Regions from separate parts of the Homo sapiens genome. Here regions 1 and 2 are each linked to region 3. The links are contacts of gene promoters, found by promoter capture Hi-C in blood cells and fetal thymus (Javierre and others, 2016). All regions are on one chromosome and are shown on one strand. The core of a region is centred on a gene start or on the middle of the fragment in contact, and the rest is flanking DNA. Distances in the headings are between cores, read along the strand shown.

The links. The method cuts DNA at HindIII sites, captures the fragments that hold promoters and counts their contacts. A CHiCAGO score of 5 or more calls a contact.
Region 1: a fragment that was not itself captured here is called in contact with the fragment with the promoter of PEX26 in region 3 in 16 of 17 cell types (megakaryocytes, erythroblasts, endothelial precursors and 13 more); the score reaches 17.1 in megakaryocytes.
Region 2: a contact is called between a fragment that was not itself captured here and the fragment with the promoter of PEX26 in region 3, in 15 of 17 cell types (erythroblasts, total B cells, naive B cells and 12 more). The highest score is 16.5, in erythroblasts.

The regions. Positions count from the first base shown.
Region 1 is chr22:17,786,469-17,789,507 of GRCh38, forward strand. It overlaps MICAL3 (microtubule associated monooxygenase, calponin and LIM domain containing 3), which reads right to left. Exons shown (of 32, transcript NM_015241.3): 32 at 1,181-3,039. Among named protein-coding and RNA genes, the nearest start is that of LINC00528, 11 kb to the left of the region's middle. RefSeq lists enhancers at 1-1,624, 145-194 and a silencer at 2,053-2,265. The HindIII fragment of the contact is 7,814 bases long and covers 1-3,039 here.
Region 2 is chr22:17,803,485-17,806,382 of GRCh38, forward strand. All of the region lies in intron 29 of MICAL3 (microtubule associated monooxygenase, calponin and LIM domain containing 3), which reads right to left. Among named protein-coding and RNA genes, the nearest start is that of LINC00528, 28 kb to the left of the region's middle. RefSeq lists enhancers at 294-1,493, 488-1,328, 1,329-2,167. The HindIII fragment of the contact is 3,985 bases long and covers 1-2,898 here.
Region 3 is chr22:18,076,545-18,079,280 of GRCh38, forward strand. It overlaps PEX26 (peroxisomal biogenesis factor 26), which reads left to right and starts at 1,446. Exons shown (of 5, transcript NM_001127649.3): 1 at 1,446-2,062. The coding sequence starts at 1,833. LOC105372853 (a long non-coding RNA gene) reads left to right here. Exons shown (of 6, transcript XR_001755424.2): 6 at 1,114-1,352. RefSeq lists enhancers at 1,120-1,179, 1,510-1,739, 2,220-2,269 and a silencer at 1,810-1,859. The HindIII fragment of the contact is 13,258 bases long and covers 325-2,736 here.

The DNA of each region.
Region 1 (3,039 bases), core at 238-2,737, 290 kb before region 3:
GCTGGTCTTGAACTCCTGACCTCAGGTGACCCTCATGCCTCGGTCTCCAGAAGTGCTGGGATTACAGGCGTGCGCCACGGCGTGTGGCCTTTTTGTGTGCTTCTGACAGTGGCTCTGGCCTGGCCCAGCAGCCTTCCTTTCTGGTGTCCTCCCTAAAGCAATACTTATCATTTCCTGCCACCTGAGGTGGCTGTGAACTGCAGCCCAAGGCTGCCTGGTGCAGCTCTGACAAGCAAGCCCTTCTGAGGAACAAGAGCCTGGGGGTCAGGTGACTACCAAGCCCCATTTCCTTTCCCAACAGGCAAGTGACCCAGCTCTCCTTGTACGGGATGTCCTCTAGGGCCACAGGATATGCACTTTGAGCTGCTCATCCATTTTTGTCCTCTGTTCTACCTGACACGCCCACATTTGTCCCAGCCAGGCCTTTCTTTGTTCTGGAATAGCTGGGAACGCAGCTGGAAGGACTGGGAGCCAGCTTCCACTGAGTGGCTTCTAGCTGCCTGTAGGCGGTGTGGCTCACGTGCACAGAGCTGCTGCGGTCTTTCCCTCCCTGCATGGCGCCCCTGGATGGTCACAGGGTCAGCCGTGCTCCCAACAATGCAACACACCGAGGGAGGGGTTAGAGAGACAGCTGGGGCGTGCCTCGGAGGCTTCTTAGAACAAAGAAAGAGGAGCTGGCCAGGACTGTTCCCTGTAATCTCCTGGGGACAATTTTCAGGCTAACGAGCAGTGACCCTACGCACTGAATGACCTCGAGATCGTTGAAACATCTGAAAGGTTTAGGCGTGGGTGCTGCAGACCCCATGCCATGGACTCCCGGGTCAGCTGTGCTGCAGGACAGAGCCAGGCAGGGCTGGAAGGAGGGCTGCCAGGACCACAGCATCACCCTGACTCAGAGTATCTCCAATTCAAAGAGCACACTTCCCTTCCAGAAGCTACTGGGGCTTCGTCTGAAGAGTGGCTGCTTCTCAAACTTGGCTGCCTAAGACATTTACTCAAGTGACAGCAGTTGTGGCTGAGCCAGGATATTATGGAGGACTAAAAAAAAGCACGAACTTAAAAAAAACCATGTATTCTTTAAACCGTCTTGCACGCACCCAGGCACGAGCTAGATGCGTCATACCTTGCACCTACACCATCCACCTGAAAAATACAGTAAAATGACTTAAGAAACACACTATTTATTTGAAAAACTTTTATTTTGCATAAAACAGACCCATTCCCTTTGTGGGTCAGATGTTACCACCTTTAAAAAAATGTTTTTTAACTCTCCTTTCTGTCCCACTGAAAAATTTATTTTGAAAGGGTTAAGAAGAGTCTATCATTGCTGGTCAAAATCGGCCTGAGGATGGCCGCCAGGGACAGAGGCCTGAAGGCATCATCTGGGCAGGCCTGGAAGCCCACGGGGTGCAGCATCCTCAAGCCCAGGGGCGGGAGCGCCTCCGGCCTGCCCTCCAGGGAAGCTGCATGTGGACCTCCACGGTATTCAGCCTCCAGTTTAGTCAGCCTTGAGTCTGGGCTGCTCCCGCACCTGGTGTTTTATGCGTGTGATATATGTGTATCCATCCTGCTTCCCTGCCTTCAAGGGAAGACTTAACTCTCCGAGAGAAAACCTGCCTGGAGCTGCGCACATTCTCACAGCTTGAGAACGCTTGACGCAGGAAGTCACCAGAGTACTCAAGTCAACCGCAAACTAGTGGTTACAAAATGGGAGCTTTAAAAAAAGTGCTCTACTAGAACTGGGTGTCCTCACAGTCGGGAGCAGAAGGCTGGGGCGCAGGCCTGCGGCTCTGCGGCGCCTCTCTGCAAAGGCTCGGGTCCACCTTCCAGACTGCAGGCTGCCGTGTGTGCTGTGGAGGATGCCACAGTGTTAAGGCTGACCAGGACCAGAAGGTGACACTGGGCTCTCCTGCTACGTCTGGCCACTTACAGCAGATCCCTAGGCCACACTCCTTCCAAGCCACTTTGCAAACTGTTTCCCTGTTGTGGGGCCAGCAGGAGCTACAAGGGCCGAAGGCGGCTCTGCCGGGGCTGGACCGGTTTTGTGGCATTCGAGGAGAGGTCTGGGAAAGGCCACGCAGGCAGTGAAGGTCTTTTCCCACGTCCAATTTTATGGGACGACTGGGGTTTGAAGATGGAATCTAGAAACCCTCCTCTCCCCTTTTTTAAGTAAAGAGAAAAGAAAAGGAGACCTTTGCCTCACGTGAGAACAGGTGGAGAATCAGCGCTGTGGCGGCCACTAGCGGCGTTATCTCCCGGATGTGCATGGGAGAGAGATGGCAGCTTCTGGACAGACAAGGATGACACAGGTTCTTTGCTCCTTTGCAGCTGGGATGAATGTTCAAGTTGAAGCACAGTGTGGTTCCCATGGAAAGCCCAAGGTCAGCACAGCCACTCAGCCTGCTCCACTGCGGGACGCCTTGGAGGGGCCAGGCCTCTGCTCCCAGCTGGCCCCAGCCCACGGAGGCGGCAGGCGGCTGGAGCGCCCCTGGCAGGCGGGTCTGGTCCGGATGGCTCCTCGCTGGGCTATGTGCTGACTGCTTTGATGGACAAGCACCCCACCCCGATTAGCTCAGTGGCTTGATGAGCTGTACACAGCCAGGCTGGTGCGGAACCGTGAGAAAGGAACAGTTTGGCTATAGGAGCTAGTGATTCGGGGCTCGCCCTTTATGTCCCCATGAAGATCCGGCACAAGGCAGGTGCCCGTCGCCTTCGGAAGGAAGGGCGGGAGTCGCTGATCTGCTTGAGAGGCACCAGCCTGCATCCCAGCATCCACTGCAGCACTCGCGTTTCCGTCTGGGTGAATCTTAGGCTGGGAGGAGGGAATTCTCACCAGCCACATGATTCCAGGGTCCCACCTTGCACCCTCTTGGCCTGTGTGGATGAGGGCCCATCCTGAAACCTTCTTTAACATATGTGCGGAGGAAGGTGATGCCCTGGCCCCCAAACTGAGACAAGGGCGAGTTCTGCAGAGCCGGAATTCTCACTGGGAGGGTGAGAGTGGCAGCTCTGCTGTTGGCCTGGCCCAAAACAGAACGG
Region 2 (2,898 bases), core at 180-2,679, 270 kb before region 3:
TCAGGGCAAAAGCTGTGTTGGAGTGTGTGTATTTAGGGGACCAGGACGCAGATGCAAGGCTGGTGGAGTCGGGTGGGCAAAGTTTTATTATAAAAAATTAAAAACGACCCCAGGCAGCAAAAGCAAGCTCAGATCTTCCTCTGGAGCACATGTGGGCAGCGGGGAGATCAGCACGCTGCTCTGTTTTGAGCTGGAAAAGGGTCTGTGCTTTTGCCATTTGGTTATTGGGTTGATTTCTCCTTGTTTTTGTGAGCAGGGACTGGGAAGCGTGGGTGGAGAAAGGGCGTCAGCGGGGTTAGTGTCAGCACAGGCGCTGCCATACATACCACCCAGATGCAAGTCGATGAGGTCACTGTAATAAGACTCTCCCCAATAGTCTACAACAAGGAATCGGTGAAGAGAGAGTTATTCCATCAGGTAGTCCTCCTGTCCCCCCATACCCAATCAATGATATGATATGGAGCAATCAATGATATGGAGCGCAAGAAACACAGACACAGCGAGGCGGCAGAGGAACGGCTGGAAGGCATGCGTGCCTAAGTGCATCACATACTGCATGTCCACACATGCCGTATCTGCATACTGCGTGGCTGCGGGAGGAGGGCGGTAACTAAAACTCACTGTGGGGAGTCAATGGTCACTATCAACATGATCCCACGTACACCAGGGATCAGCCAGGACAGAGGCTTTGGCTTTGCTGGGAACTCCTGCCCCTGGGACTGAACCTTCTCTAACTAAGAGTTAATAGAGCGGGGCTGCCTGCGTGTCAGTTGCTGATACTGGAAGCCCCAGGCTGAGGGCCTGGAGGCAGGAGGCAAACGTCCTACAGAAGCTCTGAAATCCTTAGGTTTCGTGCAGTCAGTGCTCTCCCAGGAATTCCCACGACCCCACTGCTGACTCTATCAAATGCCTTGCAGACCCACTTTTGCCGAATGGGTTTGAGAGAAAGGGGATCCTGTTTCGAGGCTTAGGCCTCCAAATTCAGTCGGCCTTCTTAACAACAGGAAACGAGCAGAGACTCATGCAGAGTTCTTCCCCCAGGCACTCGGCCGAAGGCTCCTGGAGGTGTGCTGGCCTGGGGCACTCCTAGCCTGGTAGTTCCACAGCTGTCTGGCCAAGAGCGCTATGTAATTTCCACGCCTGAGATGCAGACTGGGCACTGCCGAGAGGCTGGGCTTGAGCAGGCGGTCCTCATCTCCCCAGAATCATAAAGACACACAGAGCACAGCACTCGGCCGCCATGGTGTTGCCCTCTCTCCAAACCCCGCATTCTGAATGCAGATCCTCACAGCCTCCGGTCCCACCTGAGGGCCTCCCCTTGAGAGTGACACAGCAGACACAGTGGTAGAATGCGGTCCTGCCCCAGTTTTTCAATGCATGCTCAAGGCTGAGTCAGTGTTTTTGTAACAAAAAGGCTTCCCAGGTGCCCCAGGACTGGAAATTACCTAAGTTGTGGCCTGGCCCTAGGATCAAAGGTGCTGAAGCTAATCCTTGCAGCCTGGCCATACGTCGTCATACCTTAGACAAACGGAGAACGGGATGGCAGGTCCATGCTAGAGCGCTTCTCTGGAAAGGCAGCTTGGCTAACAAAGTCTGACGCCCTCAGACGGTGATGGAAGCTGGAGACCCCCAAGTGAGATGATGGCAGGTTCCAGCCAGTTTACTACAGTCCCCAGGGAAGGGCAGACTGCCATGATGAGAAGACTCCAGATTATTATCATGCCCAGCTGCCACTGCCTTCTTCAGGGCTCAGCCAGGTGCCACAAGACTAAGAAGAGGAACGGGACGCAGAAGCAGGAGAGAAAGCAGCAGCAGCACGCACACCTGGGCTTCAGAGACGGCATCGGCCAAGGAGGGGCAGGGCCACGGGGAACTGTGATGGGAGACCAGCTTGGAAGGGATGTATTCACGTAAGAGAAGGAACATATTTGGAAATTCTTATATTCTTATGGTAGGAACCATAATTCCTGAAAATTCCAGAGAGTTTCTCAAATGCATCACAACGAAATATCCCAACAGAGCTACTAAGGCCCATCTTGAAAAACAGAACAGAAACATCTTTGGATAGAGATATCTGCTGAAGACTCATCTAAAGGAAGGAGTTTGCACTACGACAGTGGTTTTCAAGCCTCTGTGGAACCCTAAGGTTCTTCCAAAGGCATTCCAAGGGGTCTCCCAAATACCTGATGTACAAATACTTGTAGCTCTTTCAAGAGCCCTTATTAAAATAAGACACACCACCTTCAAATGTTTTTGTTTTTGAGACAGAGTTTCGCTCTTGTTGCCCAGGTTGGACTGCAATGGCGTGATCTCGGCTCACCGCAACCTCCACCTCCCAGGTTCAAGCGATTCTCCTGCCTCAGCCTCCCGAGTAGCTGGGATTACAGGCATGTACCACCATGCCAGGCTAATTTTTTGTATTTTTAGTAGAGACAGGGTTTCTCCATGTTGGTCAGGCTGGTCTCAAACTCCCGGCCTCAGGTGATCCGCCCACCTCGGCCTCCCAAAGTGTTGGGATTACAGGCGTGAGCCACCGCGCCCGGCCCAAATGTTTTATATGCCAACTTTTCACCCACTGGAGACCATCAACCCAATAATTTGTGCTGCCAGGTGAGCTTGATTTTGTGGAGCCCTCAGGATCAAGTTTCCGCCTCTCTCTGTGTGTAAGTGGCTGAACTCCCTGTAAATGTGTTAGTGAAGAGGACATTTTATTCATTTGTTTATTTAAATTCTGGCCTGCAGCATAGTGCTCACCTGCCACCGTTCAGGGTCTGTCCGGGAGAGCTACAGCTCACTGACAGCACGCACGCCTGTCAGCGAGTCCCTTTATGTAGGTGGGTAACACGTTTTGCTGCGGTATTACAGCATGGCTGGGTTTTTGTTTACTTTGTTTGGGAG
Region 3 (2,736 bases), core at 196-2,695:
GAGCTCTACTCTGCTCTGCAGGGACAGAACTAAGTATGTTTGCTATTCAGGGGATACACAGTCATTCCATGAGCAAGTTACACAATGTAAAATAAGGACATTGTGAAAAACAAAACCATACCGTACATAATGCACTTTATAGTAAAGTACTGGGAACAGAGTATTTGGTAAATTGTAACTATAATAATAATTTTAAACAGATCCACAAATCACACTTATTATTATATTCTGTTTCACCCGGGCTTTGCCAAGCTTCCCACATTTGTACTAGATCCTCTTGGCTTTAGTTTCTCCCCAGTTCTCTACCCTTTGAATTCACTCCAAAGCTTCCCTAGAATCTTTGCTCTCCTAGAAATTAGATTAAACAGGCACCTGCTCACATCATACATCCCCTGCCCTTGTCACCAGACATGCACACATCCATCTTCTGGGATTTCCGTTCTCTTGCAGAAAAGTCTGCATGGGAAGCTGAGGCAGAACCAAGTCCACCAGACTCCGAGGAAAGAGAAGTCTGGACCCTGTAACCAGATAAAAGTGAAACCAGGACTTCATTTATTCCACAAATACTTTTTGACTACCTATAGATGACAGGCACTGTTCAAGGCATTGAGGTTCCCACAGTGAACAAAAGAGACAAAAACGTCTGCCTTTGTGAGTTTATATCATAGTGGAAGGAAATAGACAATAAAAATAAGTAAAATATAGACATTGGTATGTAGATGGTGATAAATGATAAGGAGAAATATAAAGACAGATCGGAAGTGACAACAGTGGGGAAGTGGAATTGGTATCTGCATTTAACGTTGTTTTTTAACAGCAAATTCAGGATGGGGCAGAGAGCAGTGAGAAAAATGAGGCCCTTATGCTCAGCGCCCCCAACCCCGCCTCGGTGGGGTCACTATTCATTTTGGAACATTGCCCTTGGGACCAACATATTCTCAGTGGTCCTTGTGAAGGTTTCCACCCTAAGTCCCTCATCCTCACCAGGCAATATTCATTACCCTACAGCAAACTCCGGAGGCAACGCGGAGAAAGTGTGAATCAATTCAAGACTAAGGTTGCCAAAATGTTTGATCAGCTCTGCGTCAGCCTTGACATTACATTACATTACAGATCCCCTGATCGCCACCGTCGCAGAAGCTCTGAATTAAAAGCGTGCATGTAGCTGCACATCCATTGCTGGCACTTCTTCCGTTAGCCTCCGCTGGAACTGGTTAGTGAGGACCCCTCCATTTCACAAGACAGCTTCGGTTTTGCTTCGTTTTGACTTCCGCACCCCGAAGCTGTAGCACCAGTTTGTTTTCTCACGGCACAGGGGCGGCTTCCGGGGCGCGGCGTGCTGGGGGTTGTAGTCCGCGCTCTGCCTCCTACTTCCATTACAGAAGGCGATGGGCCGAGAGCTGAGGAACTACAACTCCTAGAGTACTCCGCGCCGCCGGGACGCCGCGCGGCTGCGGGGCTGGGCGAGCGCAAAGATGTCCGCGCCCGCTGCCGGGAGGCGAGGTGAGTCTTTGATCGTAACCAGGAGCCCGGAGCTGAGGCAGTTCCTGCACGTGTCGCGGGGCCGGAGAAGCTAGGGCCAGGTATTCCAGGGATGCAAGAATCCTGCAAATCTGACGTGTAAACTGCTTCCCCAGCCTCCAGGCGAGCCCAGCTTTTGCCTCAGATAGGCCCCTTCCTTTTCCTTCTCGGGGAATCGACCTCGGGAAGGGGTGTGGGCAAAGAGATGAGGACTCTCCCTCTTCGCCCAGGCCAACTCGGGATATCCCGGAGCCTCTGGGGAGGCGGTCACTCCGACGTCTGAGGACCTGGGCCTTGGACCCGGACTCGTTATGAAGAGCGATTCTTCGACCTCTGCAGCCCCCCTCAGGGGGCTCGGGGGACCCCTGCGCAGCAGCGAGCCGGTGCGCGCGGTCCCGGCCCGGGCGCCGGCCGTGGACCTTCTGGAGGAGGCGGCCGACCTCCTGGTGGTGCACCTGGACTTCCGGGCGGCGCTGGAGACCTGCGAGCGGGCCTGGCAGAGTCTGGCCAACCACGCCGTGGCAGAGGAACCCGCGGGCACGTACGTGCTGGGCTCGGAAATGAACCGATTTCCGGGCGCTCTTGTGGTGGGGCTCAAGGTCTCAGGAGTTCTGTCCTTCCCAGATTGCCCACAAGGAGCTTTACACCTCGCTTTCATCAGTGGTTTGTCTCCGAGAGGGTGGTCGCTCATCGTGTGCCCATTCTACAGAGAAGGGAAGTCGTGTAACAAAAACTTAGTGGGGATCCCACAGCCAATTATTTGCTCCTTGTTCCAAGGTACAATGACATGATGGGAAGGCTGAATGTGTATTAAGTGCTAAGTTCTGTCAGTAAGCAGGTGGTAAAAGTCCTCTCCCAGGTACCTCCGCCCTCCCCGCCCCGCCCAAGGTTGTTTATTCCTGACCTTGGCTGATGATGGGGAATGGGGGTCATGGCAGGAGCAGCGTTCTGGTCCAATTAGAGGACTGGATTAAAGAATTAATTCAGGGCCGGGAGCTGGGGCTTACGCCTGTAATCCCAGCACTTTGGGAGGCCGAGGCAGGAGGATTGCTTGAGCCCAGGAGTTCGAGACCAGCCTGGGTAACATAATGAGCCCTCTTCTCTACCAAAAAGAAGAAAAAGAAAAGAATCCGGAGAAAAAAACCTTGGGCTTGCATTGCTCTTTCTAATGCCACCAGCCTCGTCTGGCAGGTGAGGGAGTCATTTCTTTGCATT